Regions from separate parts of the Homo sapiens genome. Here region 2 is linked to region 1. The links are contacts of gene promoters, found by promoter capture Hi-C in blood cells and fetal thymus (Javierre and others, 2016). All regions are on one chromosome and are shown on one strand. Each heading gives the region's core, a stretch centred on a gene start or on the middle of the fragment in contact. The rest is flanking DNA. Distances are from core to core; before and after follow the strand shown.

Evidence for each region. Contacts are between HindIII fragments. The CHiCAGO score rates a contact against its expected background, and 5 or more counts as called.
Region 2: a contact is called between a fragment that was not itself captured here and the fragment with the promoter of CELA1 in region 1, in 6 of 17 cell types (megakaryocytes, M2 macrophages, non-activated CD4 T cells and 3 more). The highest score is 6.6, in megakaryocytes.

What each region holds. Positions count from the first base shown.
Region 1 is chr12:51,345,336-51,352,110 of GRCh38, reverse strand. CELA1 (chymotrypsin like elastase 1) reads left to right here and starts at 5,432. Exons shown (of 8, transcript NM_001971.6): 1 at 5,432-5,488; 2 at 6,234-6,316. The coding sequence starts at 5,473. It overlaps GALNT6 (polypeptide N-acetylgalactosaminyltransferase 6), which reads left to right. Exons shown (of 12, transcript NM_007210.4): 12 at 1-859. The HindIII fragment of the contact is 4,543 bases long and covers 3,838-6,775 here.
Region 2 is chr12:51,253,270-51,259,688 of GRCh38, reverse strand. All of the region lies in intron 2 of SMAGP (small cell adhesion glycoprotein), which reads left to right. Among named protein-coding and RNA genes, the nearest start is that of SMAGP, 14 kb to the left of the region's middle. The HindIII fragment of the contact is 292 bases long and covers 4,704-4,995 here.

The DNA.
Region 1 (6,775 bases), core at 4,183-6,682:
ACCAGATGAGGGTGCTATGGGACCACAGCTGTCTTTGTTCCCATTGCAACTCAACCCTGCGGGAGGCCGCCTACATCCCTGAGAGCCTTCTGGAGCCTACAGAGGAGACATTGGCCAGCCAAAAGGAAAGGAGTGGCCAGGGTACGACCTGGAGTAGGGAAGGGAAAAAGTTCCCGGAAAGAAGAGAATTGGATGAGAGGTCTCAGTGGAAATAAAGGTTTTCTGGCATTGGTCAAGGAAACTCGCGTTGTGTTCTCTTACCTGTGTTGTCCCTTAGCTGAATCAGTTGATTTGGGCTATGAAGAACCACACACATCTGAAAAGTTCTGTTACAGCCACTGTCTCATGTCCCCAAACATTCTCTGGCCCTAAATCTAGCTTATGTATTGTGTCAAGCACGTGGAGACGTGAGACGTCAAACGAGGTCCTGTCCCCGTGGAACTCACACGCTAAATGTAAGCAAATCATAGCAAGCCTGGAGATGCTCCAAGAGGTGCTGGATGAGTTAGAAGGAGCAATTCCTTCCACTTAGGGAATCAGATAAGGCCTCACAAAGATGGCAATGTTTGACCTAAGACCTCGGAAGATGAGTCCTCAGATGGGAAGGGCTCAATAAGCAGAGTTGTTACACAGGCAGCAGCCTGGCAGGAGCAAAGCCACAGAGGACATGTGGCCCCAGTGGGTCTGAGAAACCCAGAGGACATTGGGGTGAGGGAGTGACTGGTGTAGAAGCTGGAAGATCAGAGTTACATCATGAATTTCAGGGGCCCTAGGCACTTTAGCCTTCACGGAGCTCTTGCTCCATTCAAAAAAAAATTAATGTTATGACTATGTTGGTATAAAGATGAATGTAATCCAGGCTGATTGGATTTACTTTATTTCTTCTGGTTTTAAAAGAAGCTAAAACATTTCTATGGGCCCTGGGCACTGCACCTGCTGTGCCTACTGGGTAACTCAGCCCCGTACAAGAGTGGGTTGGGGCCCAGTTGAGAGAGGCTTTGGTAGGTCCGGTAAGCCACAGGGAGTCGTGGAGCCTAACCCTAGCCTTATTCTTGGTTGCATTAAATATCCAAACGTGGATCCCAGTATCCCTCATACTGTCTATGGTATCACCCAACAGCTCCCCAGCCTAATCATATGATGTAGCCCAACCAAGGTGCCCAGCTGTGTCAAGAAGGTTCCACCTGCCCCCAAATAGCATAGCACTTCCCAGGCACAGTCAGCCAAGAGCTACTCGCAGGGAGTGGGAGATGCAGCAGGAGGGAGACACAGGCTGTGTCTAGAGAGGAGGTCTGGGTTCAGGGATGAGGGGAGGACTAGGGAAGGGAGGTGGTGGAGAAGAGGGAGAAGGCACTGATGGGAGTGGTGGGAAGGCTCAAGAAACTAGCTTTGGCCAGGCACCAATGTCTGACAACTGTAATCCCAGCACTTTCAGAAGCCGAGGCGGGCAGATCACTTGAGGTCAGGAGTTCAAGACCAGCCTGGCCAACATGGCGAAACCCAGTCTGTACTAAAAATACAAAAGTTAGCCAGACGTGGTGGCAGGCGTCTGTAATCCCAGCTACTCGGGAGGCTGAGGCACAAGAATCGCTTGAGCCTGGGAGGCAGAGGTTGCAGTGAGCTGAGATTGTGTTTCAGCCTGGGTGACCGAGTGAGACTCTGTCTCAAAAAAACAAACAAACAAACAAGAAACTAGCTTCTTCATGGCATTTTCCTTAGTCAAGCCTGGCCTGGCCCTAACAACACCCGTATTCTTCCTTAAAACCCACCCCTCTGACCACTCTCAGCTAACCTAAGGCCCCTACCTCTTAAAACCCTGCTGCTAGCCCTGTGCTACTATCTCCCGGCTCTAGGAGTCTCTCACTCTAGCATTAAAGAGCTAGGCCTCTCTGGGGATCTGTTTCCCACATGAAGAGTACTGGGGCCATTGCCACAAATAGCTAGATGTCCCAGAATTTATTCTTATTTTTAATTACCAAAGTAATACTGTGCCAGCCTGGCCAACATATCGAAACCCCGTCTTTACTAAAAATACAAAAATTAGCTGGGCGTGGTGGTGGGCACCTGTAATCCCAGCTACTCGCAAGGTTGAGGCAGGAGAATCGCTTGAACCTGGGAGGTGGAGGTTGCAGTGAGCCAAGATTGTGCCACTGCACTTCAGCCTGGGCAACACAGAGAGACTCCATTTTGTTTTGTTTTGTTTTTTTTAAAGTAATATTGTGGAGAAAAGTCAAGTGATCTAGAAAAGTGAGGTTTAAAAAAGTGAAATTTGCTACTTGGGAGGCTCAGGTGGGAGGATTGCTGGAGCCCAGAAAGTCAAGGCTGCAGTAATTTGTGATCGTGCCACTGCACACCAGCCTGGGTGACAGAGAGAGACTCTGTTTCAAAAAAATAATAAAGCTATATAGTATTCCATAGCAGGGTTAAACCCAATTTATTCAGTCTTCCTCTACTGATGAATACTTAGCTTTTTTCCAATTTTGCAACAAGCTTTGTGACAAACTATACTGTAACCCACAACCTCGAACATTTATTTTTCTGCCTGTTTTTTTGTTTTGTTTTGTTTTGAGACTGGGTCTTGTTTTGTCACCCAGGCTGGAGTGCAGTGACACAATCATGGCTCACTGCAGCCTCGACCTCCCATGCTCAAGGGATCCTCCCACCTCAGCCTCCCAAGTAATGGGACTACAGGCATGCGCCACCATGTTTTTTTCATGTTTTGTAGAGACAAGGTCTCATTATGTTGCCCAGGCTGATACCAAACTTCTGGCCTCAAGCAGTCCTCCCGCCTTGGCTTCCCAAATTGCTGAGATTACAAACATGAGCCACCATGCCCGACCAGTGTTTATCTCAAAAGAATTCATTCCTAGAATTGGTATGCAATGTCAGAAGAAATGCAATGCCTCAAAATTTAAGTCATTGTCTGGCTGGGCGGGTGGCTCATGCCTGCAATCCCAGTACTTGGGGAGGCTGAGGTGGGTGAATCACTTGAGCTCAGGAGTTTGAGACTAGCTTGGGCAACATGGTGAAACCTCGTCTCTACAAAAAATACAAAAATTAGCTGGGCATGGTGGCTGGCACCTGTAGTCCCAGCTACTTGAGGGGCTGAGGTGGGAGGATCGCTTGAGCCCAGAAGATGGAGGTTGCAGTGAGTTGAGATCATGCCACTGCACTCTAGCATGGGCAACAGAATGAGACCCTGTCTTAAAAAAAGAAAAAATTTAAGCCATTGTCTATGCCTAACCCTAAGAGTAAGATTTTTTTTTTTTTTTTTTTGAGATGGAGTCTTGCTCTGTTGCCCAGGCTGGAGTGCAGTGGCACAATCTCGGCTCACTGCAACCTCCACCTCCAGGGTTCAAGCAACTCTCCCTGCCACAGCTTCCCAAGGAGCTGGGATTACAGCTCCCAAGCACAGGGACTACACCACAACGCCTGGCTAATTTTTGTATTTTCAGTAGAGACGGGATTTCACCATGTTGGCCAGGCTGGTCTGGAACTCCTGACCTCAGGTGATCTGGCCCTGCTGTGATGTAAAGAGGTAACCTTCAGGAGGCCCTCAAGCCTCCTCTTGGACTCCTCATCCTGGGGCTAGAGGCCAGAGGAAGCAGGGAAGCGGGAGGAGAATGACCAAAGAGGCCCCGGGTTCCCTAGCGCAGCTCACCCCTCTTCCCTGAGTGTGCCAGAATGCTGGAGGGCAGGCTGGAGAGCAAGCTCTTCAGGTTATCTGAGCATCAAAGTGCAACTCCTCTGAACAGCTCTAGACACTGAAAAAGTGACTGTGCAGATTCCTTCAAAGAGCATTTTCCAGGTTTCTCCCACCCCTGCAGCCATGAAGCTTGGATTCTGGAGTGTTTAGGCAACAAAAGCCCTGGGTGGGCAGGTGATGGTCCTGCTTCTGTCTAGGTTCCTGGCTTCTCCCTGCCTAATTCCAAACCCCATGCGTTGCTACCATGACTGCTGCACCCACAGTCCTCTGCTCTGGAGCCTGCAGTGGCTCTGATCATTTTGTGGCCAACCCAAGGGTCCTCTGCCCACCTCAAGGCACATTGCAACTCTTTTCTCTCTCTATTTATTTATTTATTTATTTATTTATTTATTTATTTATTTATTTATTTTGAGACAGAGTCTTGCTCTGTCTCCAGGCTGGAGTGCAGCAACCTCCGCTTCCCAGGTTGAAGCGATTCTCCTGCCTCAGCCTCCAGATTAGCTGGGACTGCAGAAGCGCACCACCATGCCCAGCTAATTTTTGTATTTTGTTTTTGTTTTTTTTTAGATGGAGTCTCGCTCTGTCGCCCAGGTTGGAGTGCAGTGGCGCGATCTCGGCTCACTGCAAGCTCCGCCTCCCGGGCTCACGCCATTCTCCTGCCTGCGCCTCCCGAGGAGCTGGGACTACAGGCGCCTGCCACCACGCCCAGCTAATTTTTTGTATTTTTTTAGTAGAGACGGGGTTTCACTGTGTTAGCCAGAGTAGTCTCAATCTCCTGACCTCGTGATCCGCCCGCCTCCGACTCCCAAAGTGCTGGGATTACAGGCATGAGCCACCGCGCCCGGCCAATTTTTGTATTTTTAGTAGACGGGGTTTCGCCATGTTGGCCAGGATGGTCTCGATCTCTTGATCTTGTGATCCGCCCGCCTCAGCCTCCCAAAGTGCTGGGATTACAGGCGTAAACCACCGCGCCCGGCCGCAACTCCCTTCTCTCTCCTCTACGAACTGTGATGAACAAAGCCTTTCATCTCCTGCAGGAACCTCGGCTCCTACCCTCGTTCTCCCTCTGCCCTCCACCCTCCATCTACCCTCATAGCCCTCAGACTGTCTTCACATCCCAAGGATCCCCTCCTCTACCCTGCCTCATATTCTCCTCTGGGAGCCCCTTCTTGGCTCTCCATCTGAGAGGGCCCAAGCCTGTTTCTCAGTACTTTCCTCCCCCAGAATTATCTCCACTGCATCTATTTGGCTTTTGTGTCTGCATTTACACCTATGCCTGCATCCTGGGGGCATGTGCCATCTCCCTCTTTGGGCAGAGAGAGTTGCTGTGTCTTCCTTGCCCTTGCTAACCACTCCCCCCTCTTCCACTATCCCCCTGGCCTCCAGCTGCTAGTGCACAGGGCAAGTCTCTGCATTTATGGTGCCACTGAGGACAACGAGAGAGTGATGGATGACAAGGGGTGCTCCCTTAGAGAAAAACCAGCCCTGGTTCTCCATCTTATTTCTGAAAAAGAGTTTGTTGGATGCTTTTCAATTAAAAGCAGATGATTAATTCAGCCCTGGCCTTGTTCTGTCTTTGAATAACAGATACATTAGTTTACTTGAAAAGAAATATTTTCATTTGTATTTCCATGTCACTTGTGATTTTCCCTGCCTTGCACCCTCAGCCCTGCCAGTTGGCAAGAAGACAGTCAGCTTTGCTGCTAAGAGGAGTATAAAGAGGGCTTGGTCCAAGCAAGAAGGCAGTGGTCTACTCCATCGGCAACATGCTGGTCCTTTATGGTAAGTGGATATGGTCCAGTCGCAACCCTGGTCCTTTATGGTAAGTGGATCATGTGGCCTGAGGTCTATAGGGAGGGGGACTTGGGCAGGAAGGTCAGCAAATTTTCCCTAAGTCCAGGCCAGCACCCTGTCCCAGGGCAGGTGGGACGCTCTGCCTGCAGAGCGTCCTTTACTCTCCTGGAGGCCAAGATAGAAAAGGTCAGGGCCACTGGCTATTCAGGCCCCTCTGGGTGGCAGGTCCCTGGGCCACAAAGCAGAGAGAAGCCCCATCTGGTAGTGGGGTGGGTCCCTGGGCTTCCCCACCACCCCCATTGACAGGAGGACTTCCTCAGCAGGTGCCTGGCTGGGGTGTGCACTGCAGGCCCTGAACCCTGGAGAATCTTGCCAAAGCATTAGGGGGCTGGTGGGGGTCAAAGAGTGGGGGGGGGTCTCTTCAGGCCAAAGGGTGATCTTGAGCAAAGAGGAGACCACAAGGAGCCTCTGGGGCCTAGCCTGGTGGTTTGAGAGAGGTCCTTCATAGCATGCCGGAGTTCTGGGAACACCTGGGGGAAACAGAAGGCACCCAGGCACCCCTGTTTTCAAAAGGGGCTCAGAGAACTCACAGCTGGGCCCCTCATTCGTTAGAGAGGAACTGTGAATTTGCAGACAAGGCTAACATTCCTCAAAGCACAATCGCCACCCCCCACCCCTACCCCTGGCTGACCCCATGCTTAGTCATCACTCACTTTTCTTCTGCCCCACAAAGGACACAGCACCCAGGACCTTCCGGAAACCAATGCCCGCGTAGTCGGAGGGACTGAGGCCGGGAGGAATTCCTGGCCCTCTCAGGTGGGTGTTCCTTCCCAGCCCCAGACTTCCACCCAAATAAGAGCTCAGTGCATGACATAAGGTATCATGTGTATTTGTGCATGTCCCTATCAACAAGCAGCTCTCCAATTGTCTAGGTTCTCGATTTTAAAGATGGATGGGATCAGGCTTAGGTGGTTTTCTAAATGCAAAAGGCTTGGAGGAGGGGATTTATACACCAACCACAGTCCCTCTTCAAGGCACACACCCAAACACAAGATACATTTATATTCTCAGCGACAGCACTTGTGCCACGCAAGAAAGACTGGGTGCCAGACAGTCACCTTGGACTCCACATACCTTGAAACTCACACGCACACCACTCCACACTGTGTGTGTCACAATGCTTGCACGCATGTGCGCGCACACACACACACACACACGTACAGCATGCTGCTTAGTTGGCTATTTAGAGTTTCCACTTTGCTAACAGGGCAGCTG
Region 2 (6,419 bases), core at 3,600-6,099, 92 kb after region 1:
CCTATCTGTAACTCCTGCTGCTGTTTTGGAGTATATCCTTCCAGTGTCAGTGGTTTTTTTAGGGACCCCCCCATAAGTACTTTATATATGATGTTGCTAAGCCATAGCTTCCCCATTCTTTGTGAGTAGTTGGCTTCCTGAACCTAAGAGCAAGGAATGTGTTAAATTCTCATCTTGTTCAGTTTGGTGCATTTCTTCAGTCATTTGAAATGTGTCTGTGTTTATCAGTTTACTAGTTGCCCCTCTAGCTTTGAAGCCTTTAACAAATTTGTCAGGGCTGGGCGCAGTGGCTCACACCTGTAATCCCAGCACTTTGTGTTGTTCAGGCAGGAGGATCGCTTGAGCCCAGGAGTTCAAAACTAGCCTAGGCAACACAGTAAGACTCCATCTGTACAAAAAATTTTAAAATTGTCGAATCTTCCCTGGGTCTGCAGGATCTGCATTTACCCCAAGGGCATTCAGCTCAGCCTTTGTAGAAGGCACCAATAAAGCATAAGACCAAAAATATGTATGTATATATCTTGCAAAGAATTTGAAGTTCAATATATATTTTTTGAGACAGGGTCTTACTCTGTCAGCCAGGCTGGCATGCAGTGGCGCAAACATGGCTCACCGCAGCCTCAACTTCTCAGACTGAAGTGATCCTCTAGAATCCTCCTCAGGGTTCAACTATCAGGTTTTTTTTTTTTTTTTTTTTTTTTTTTGGTAGAGACAGGGTCTCCCCATGTTGCCCAGGCTGGCTTTGAACTCCTGGGCTCAAGCAGTCCTCCTGCCTCAGCCTCCCAAATTGTTGGGATTACAGGCATGAGCCACTGCACCCAGCCTTGGACTTTCTTATACTTGCTTTATGATTTAATATTTTTATTTCAAATTACATAAAGGCCTTATTTTGGCCCTTGCATGATTTGACATAACTATCAATTCAAAAAGGACTAAGGTTAAACCACAGTGAAAGAGTCTCTGTCTAGACTGGCATCACTTCATCCCTTAACAACCCATTACTGCCTCACTTAGGCCTTATAGCCAGGCTGTATTTCTCTGCCTTGTCCACAAGGATATTATAAATAATCTTTTCTTTTCTTTCTTTTTTTTTTTTGAGATGGAGTCTCACTCTTGTTGCCCAGGCTGGAGTGCAATGGCACGATCTCAGATCACTGCAACCTGTGCCTCCCAGGTTCAAGCGATTCTCCTGCCTCAGCCTCCCAGTAGTAGCTGGGATTATAGGTGCCCACCACCATGCCCAGCTAATTTTTATTTTTAGTAGAGATGGGGTTTCACCATGTTGGCCAGGCTGGTCTTGAACTCCCAACCTCCATCACCTTAGGTGATCCACCTGCCCTCAGCCTCCCAAAATGCTGGGATTACAGGCATGCACCACTGTGCCCGGCCTGTAAATAATGTTGTTGTATGTTTTCTGATGCTATTTACTCTTGCAGCACCTTCAGTTCTCCTTAAGCCCCTCCTACCCTCACTCTCAACTGATTATCTTACATCCTATTTTGTAATTATTAATTAATTTATTTTTTGAGAGACAGGGTCTGTTACCTAGGCTGGAGTGCTATGGCACAATCATAGCTCACTGCAGCCTTGAACTCCTGGGCTCAAGGAATCCTCCCACCTCAGCCTTCCAAATTGCTGGACTTACAGGTGTGTGCCACCATGCCTGGCTATTGCTTTTATTTTTATTTTTATTTTTTTTGTAGAGATGGAGGTCTCACTATGTTGCTCTCAGCCTGATCTCAAACTCCTGACCTCAAGCGATCCTCCCACATTGGACTCTCAAAGTGCTGGGATTATAGGTGCAAACCACTGGGCCCAGTTAAGATCTTACTTTAGAATGGGTAGGCTGGGCACAGTGGCTCACACCTGTAATCCCAGCACTTTGAGAGGCCAAGACAGGCAGATCACCTGAGGTCAGGAGTTCGAGACCAGCCTGGCCAACAGGGTGAAACCCCATCTCTACTAAAAATGCAAAAATTAGCCAAGTGTAGTGGTGGGTACCTGTAATCCCAGGTACTCGGGAGACTAAGGCAAGAGAATCATTATAACCTGGGAGGAGGAGGTTACAGTGACCCAAGGTGGCACCACTGCACTCCAGCCTGGGTGACAGAGCAAGACTGTCTCAAAAAAAAAAAATGTATACAAAGGTCTCACTATGTTGCCCAGGCTTGTCTTGAACTCCTGGCCCTGGCCCCAAACAATTCTCCCCACTCGGCCTCTCAAAGTGCTGGGATTATAGGCACAAGCCACTGGGCCCAGTTAAGATCCTATTTTCTTGAGCAAATTAAAGTTATCAGAAGAGAACTGCCAAAGGCTCGCACCCTCACCATCAACCTGCCACCTGCATTTGTGCCCATATACTCTGCTTTTCCTCCTATTCCAATGGCACTGTCTCTGCTGCTGTCTGCAGCCAGCCCCCCAGCCCCTCTGTGCTCTAGATCTCATCCCTTCAAGGACTCTTGTGCATCATCAATTGTGCCTCTCATCTGGGTCATTCTCATCTGTATGCAAACATGCTGGCATTTCTCCCATCAGAAAAACAAACAAATTTGAACTCCCTTTCCCCTCCAGTCACAGCCTTTCTCTACTCACCTTTACAGAGAAATTTTGTGTAAGCATTTATTTATATTCTGCCTTCAGTTCCTCTCCTTCCATTTCTTCCTTGAACCCACCCTAAATTACGGGTTTGTATCCAGCACTTCACCAAAACTTCTCTTGTAAAGGTCGTTTATGATCTCTGCATGGCAAAAGCTGTTTGGCTGCTACTCCCCAGTCTCCTTGGGCTCAGTCTTGGGTTCTCTTTATCTGCACTTACTCCTGGGTGATCTCACCCAGTCTATGGTCTTAAATATCTAATGACTTTTCAACCTCTAGTACCATATATAAGAATATATATATATATCTTTTTTTGGGTGGGGGGGAGGTTTTGTTTGTTTGTGTTTTTTTTGTTTGTTTGTTTGTTTGTTTTGAGACGGAGTTTCGCTCTCATTGCCCAGGCTGGAGTGCAATGGCACGATCTCAGCTCGCCGCAACCTCCGCCTCCTGGGTTCAAGCGATTCTCCTGCCTCAGCCTCCCGAGTAGCTGGGATTACAGGCATGCGCCACCACCCCGGCTAATTTTGTATTTTTAGTAGAGATGGGGTTTCTCCATGTTGGTCAGGCTGGTCTTGAACTGCTGACCTCAGGTGATCCGCCTGCCTCTGCCTCCCAAATTGCTGGGATTACTGGCGTGAGCCACCGCGCCCGGCTTGTTTGTGTTTTTTTAAATAGAGCTGAGGTCCCACTATGTTGCCCAGGCTGCTCTTGAACTCCTGAGGTCAAGTGATCCTCTGGCCTCAGCCTCCCAAAGTGCTAAGATTACAGGCGTGAGCCACCGCACCTGGCCTCCAAATTCTAATCTTCATATCTGAACTTTGATATCTAGTAAGCAATCATGTTTCTTCCAAATTTGTTCCCCCTGCAGGCTTACCCCTCTCACATAACTCCATGCCTTCACCCTTGACTCCACCCCACATCCAATCCTGTCCGTCTTTGCTTCAGATTATATTCAGAATCTCACCACTTTCTCACTGAGCTGCTGCAAAAGCAATCAATGCTGTCGTGGAAATTAGAAAAAGGGGTTGGGCACGGTAGCTCACACCTGTAATGCCAGCACTTTGGGAGGCCAAGGTGGGCAGATCACTTGAGGTTAGGAGTTCAAGACCAGCCTGGCCAACATGGTGAAACCCCGTCTCTACTAAAAATACAAAATTAGCCAGGCATGGTGGTGCATGCCTGTAATCCCAGCTACTTGGGAGTCTGAGGCAGGAAAATTGCGTGAACCCGGGAGGCGGAGGCTGCAATAAGCTGAGATCACACCACTGTATTCCAGCCTGGACAACAGAGCAAGACCCTGTCTCAAAAAAAAGAAAGAAAAAGAAAAAGGCACACCTTTTGGCAGATGCAACTGTGCACTTGTGCAGGGTACACCCTGCTTCTGCACGTGTGCCACCTTCCCACAGCCTATTGTCCACACTGTAGTCAGAGGGATCCTTTCAAATCAATCCCTGTTTCAATCATGTATTGCTGCTGGAAGGTCTGCTAGACTAGAAGGGCCAAAATGGTCTCCCTCACATGTCTGGCAGTCAGCTGAGCCTGGGGTGCTTGGTTTTCCTCCATATGGCCTCTCATCCTCTAGCAGGCAGGATTGGGGTTCCTCTCAACATGGTGGTCTCAGGGTTTCACAAGTGTGGTCTTTGGAAATCAGGCCCCACCTCAGATCTCCTGAATCAGAATCTGCATTTTAACGAGATCTGTAGGAGATTGTTATGCACAAGAAAGTTTGAGAAGCATTGCTTTAAAACACAAACCTAGGCCAGGCACAGTGGCACATGCCTGTAATCCCAACACTTTGGGAGGCCAAGGAGGGAGAACCATTTGAGCCCAGGAGTTTTGAGACGAGCCTGGGCAACATAGCAAGACCCCGTCTCTCCAAAAAATAACAAAATTAGCCAGGCGTGTTGGTGCACGCTTGTATTCCCAGCTACTCCAGAGGCTGAGGCAGGAGGATCGCTTGAGCCTGGGAGGTGGAGGCTGCAGTGAGCCATGATCATACCATGGCACTCCAGCCTGGAGGACAGACTGAGGCCCTGTCTCAAAAATAAGTAAGTGAATAAATAATAAAAAAAATCTGATCAGTCTCTGCCCAAAAACCTGTAAAAGCTTCCCACCTCACTCCCTGAAAAAGCCCTTACCTTGGCCTACAAGGCCTGTGTTGTACAGGCCTCCTTGACTTTCTCTGCTCCTCCTCTCCCCGTTACTCCCACTCAGGGGCCTCCATACTGTGCATTTAACAGGCCAAGCATGCCTGGCCCCGGGGTGTTTTTCAGTGCTGTGGACAGCCCTCCCATGAACTTGCTGTCCCCTCTGCCTGGAATGTTCCTCAATCAGCTCTTTGCATGACTGCCTCCCTTACCTTCTTTAGGTCTTCACTCAAGTCACCTCATCAGTAAAGCTTCCCCTGACAACCTTCTCTAAAACCACAACTCCAACCACATCCCAGCTTTCCATCCTCTTTTCTGCTTATTTTTCTACATAGCGCTAATTAACGTCTAATATAGCATATCTTTTACTTATTTAATTATTTATTTTTACTTTTTTTTTTAGATGGAGTCTCTCTCTGTCACCCAGGTTGGAGTGCAGTGGTGCAATCTCGGCTCACTGCAGCCTCCGCCTCCTGGGTTCAAGTGATTCTCCTGCCTCAGCCTCCTGAGTAGCTGGGACTACAGGCATACGCCACCACACCCAGCTAATTTTTGTATTTTTAGTAGAGACGGGGTTTTGCCATGTTGGTCAGGCTGGTGCCAAACTCCTGACCTCATGATCCACCCGCCTCGGCCTCCCAAAGTGCTGGGATTACAGGCATGAGCCACCGCGCCCGGCCTTATTTTATTTATTGTCTGTCTTCCCCCTCTAAAAATGTAAATTATATAAACAGAGGGTTTTTTAATTGTGGTAAAATTATACATAACATAAAATTGACCATTTTAACCATTTTCAAGTGTACAGTCCAGCAGTATTAAGTACATTCATGTTGTTATACCTTCACCAACACCACTATGCATCTCCAGAACTTTTTCATCCTCCCAAACTAAAACTCTATACTCATTAAACATTAACTCCCCATTTTCCCCTTCTCCAGCCCCTTACAATCTCCTGTAGTACTTTCTGTCTTATGAATTTGATTGCTCTAAGCACATCATATAAGTGGAATCATACAATGTTTGTCCTCTTTTTTTTTGTTTGAGACAGAGTCTCGCTCTTTCGCCTGGGCTGGAGTGCAGTGGCATGATCTTGGCTCACTGCAACCTCTACCTCCCGGGTTCAAGTGATTCTCCTGCCTTGGCCTCCCAAGTAGCTGGGATTACAGGCACCTGCCACCACGTCCGGCTAATTTTTGTATTTTTAGTAGAGACGGGGTTTTACCACGTTGGCCAGGCTGGAATGTTTGTCCTTTTGTGCCTGGCTTATTTCACTTAGTGTCATGTCCTCAAGGTTCATCCATGTTGTAGTATATGTCTGAATTCCTTCCTTTTTTGTTTTTTGTTTTTTTTTAGAATTTCCTTCCTCTTTAAGGGTATGTATATACCACATTTTGTTTATCCATTTATCTACTGTTGGACATTTGGGTTATTTCACCTTTTATTTAGCTATTGCATAATGCTCCTATGAACATGATATACAAGTATCAGTTGAAGTCCATTCATTTCTTTTGGGTATATACCTAGAAGTGGGATTGCGGGATCATACCCACCCAGCAATGAGATTGCTGGGTAATTCTGTTTAATCCTGGCAGGAACTTTAAAGGTAAGGGTTTTTGCCTGTGTTGTTCACTGATAGAAGCCCAGAGCCTGGCACAGAGTACACACTCAGTAAATTCT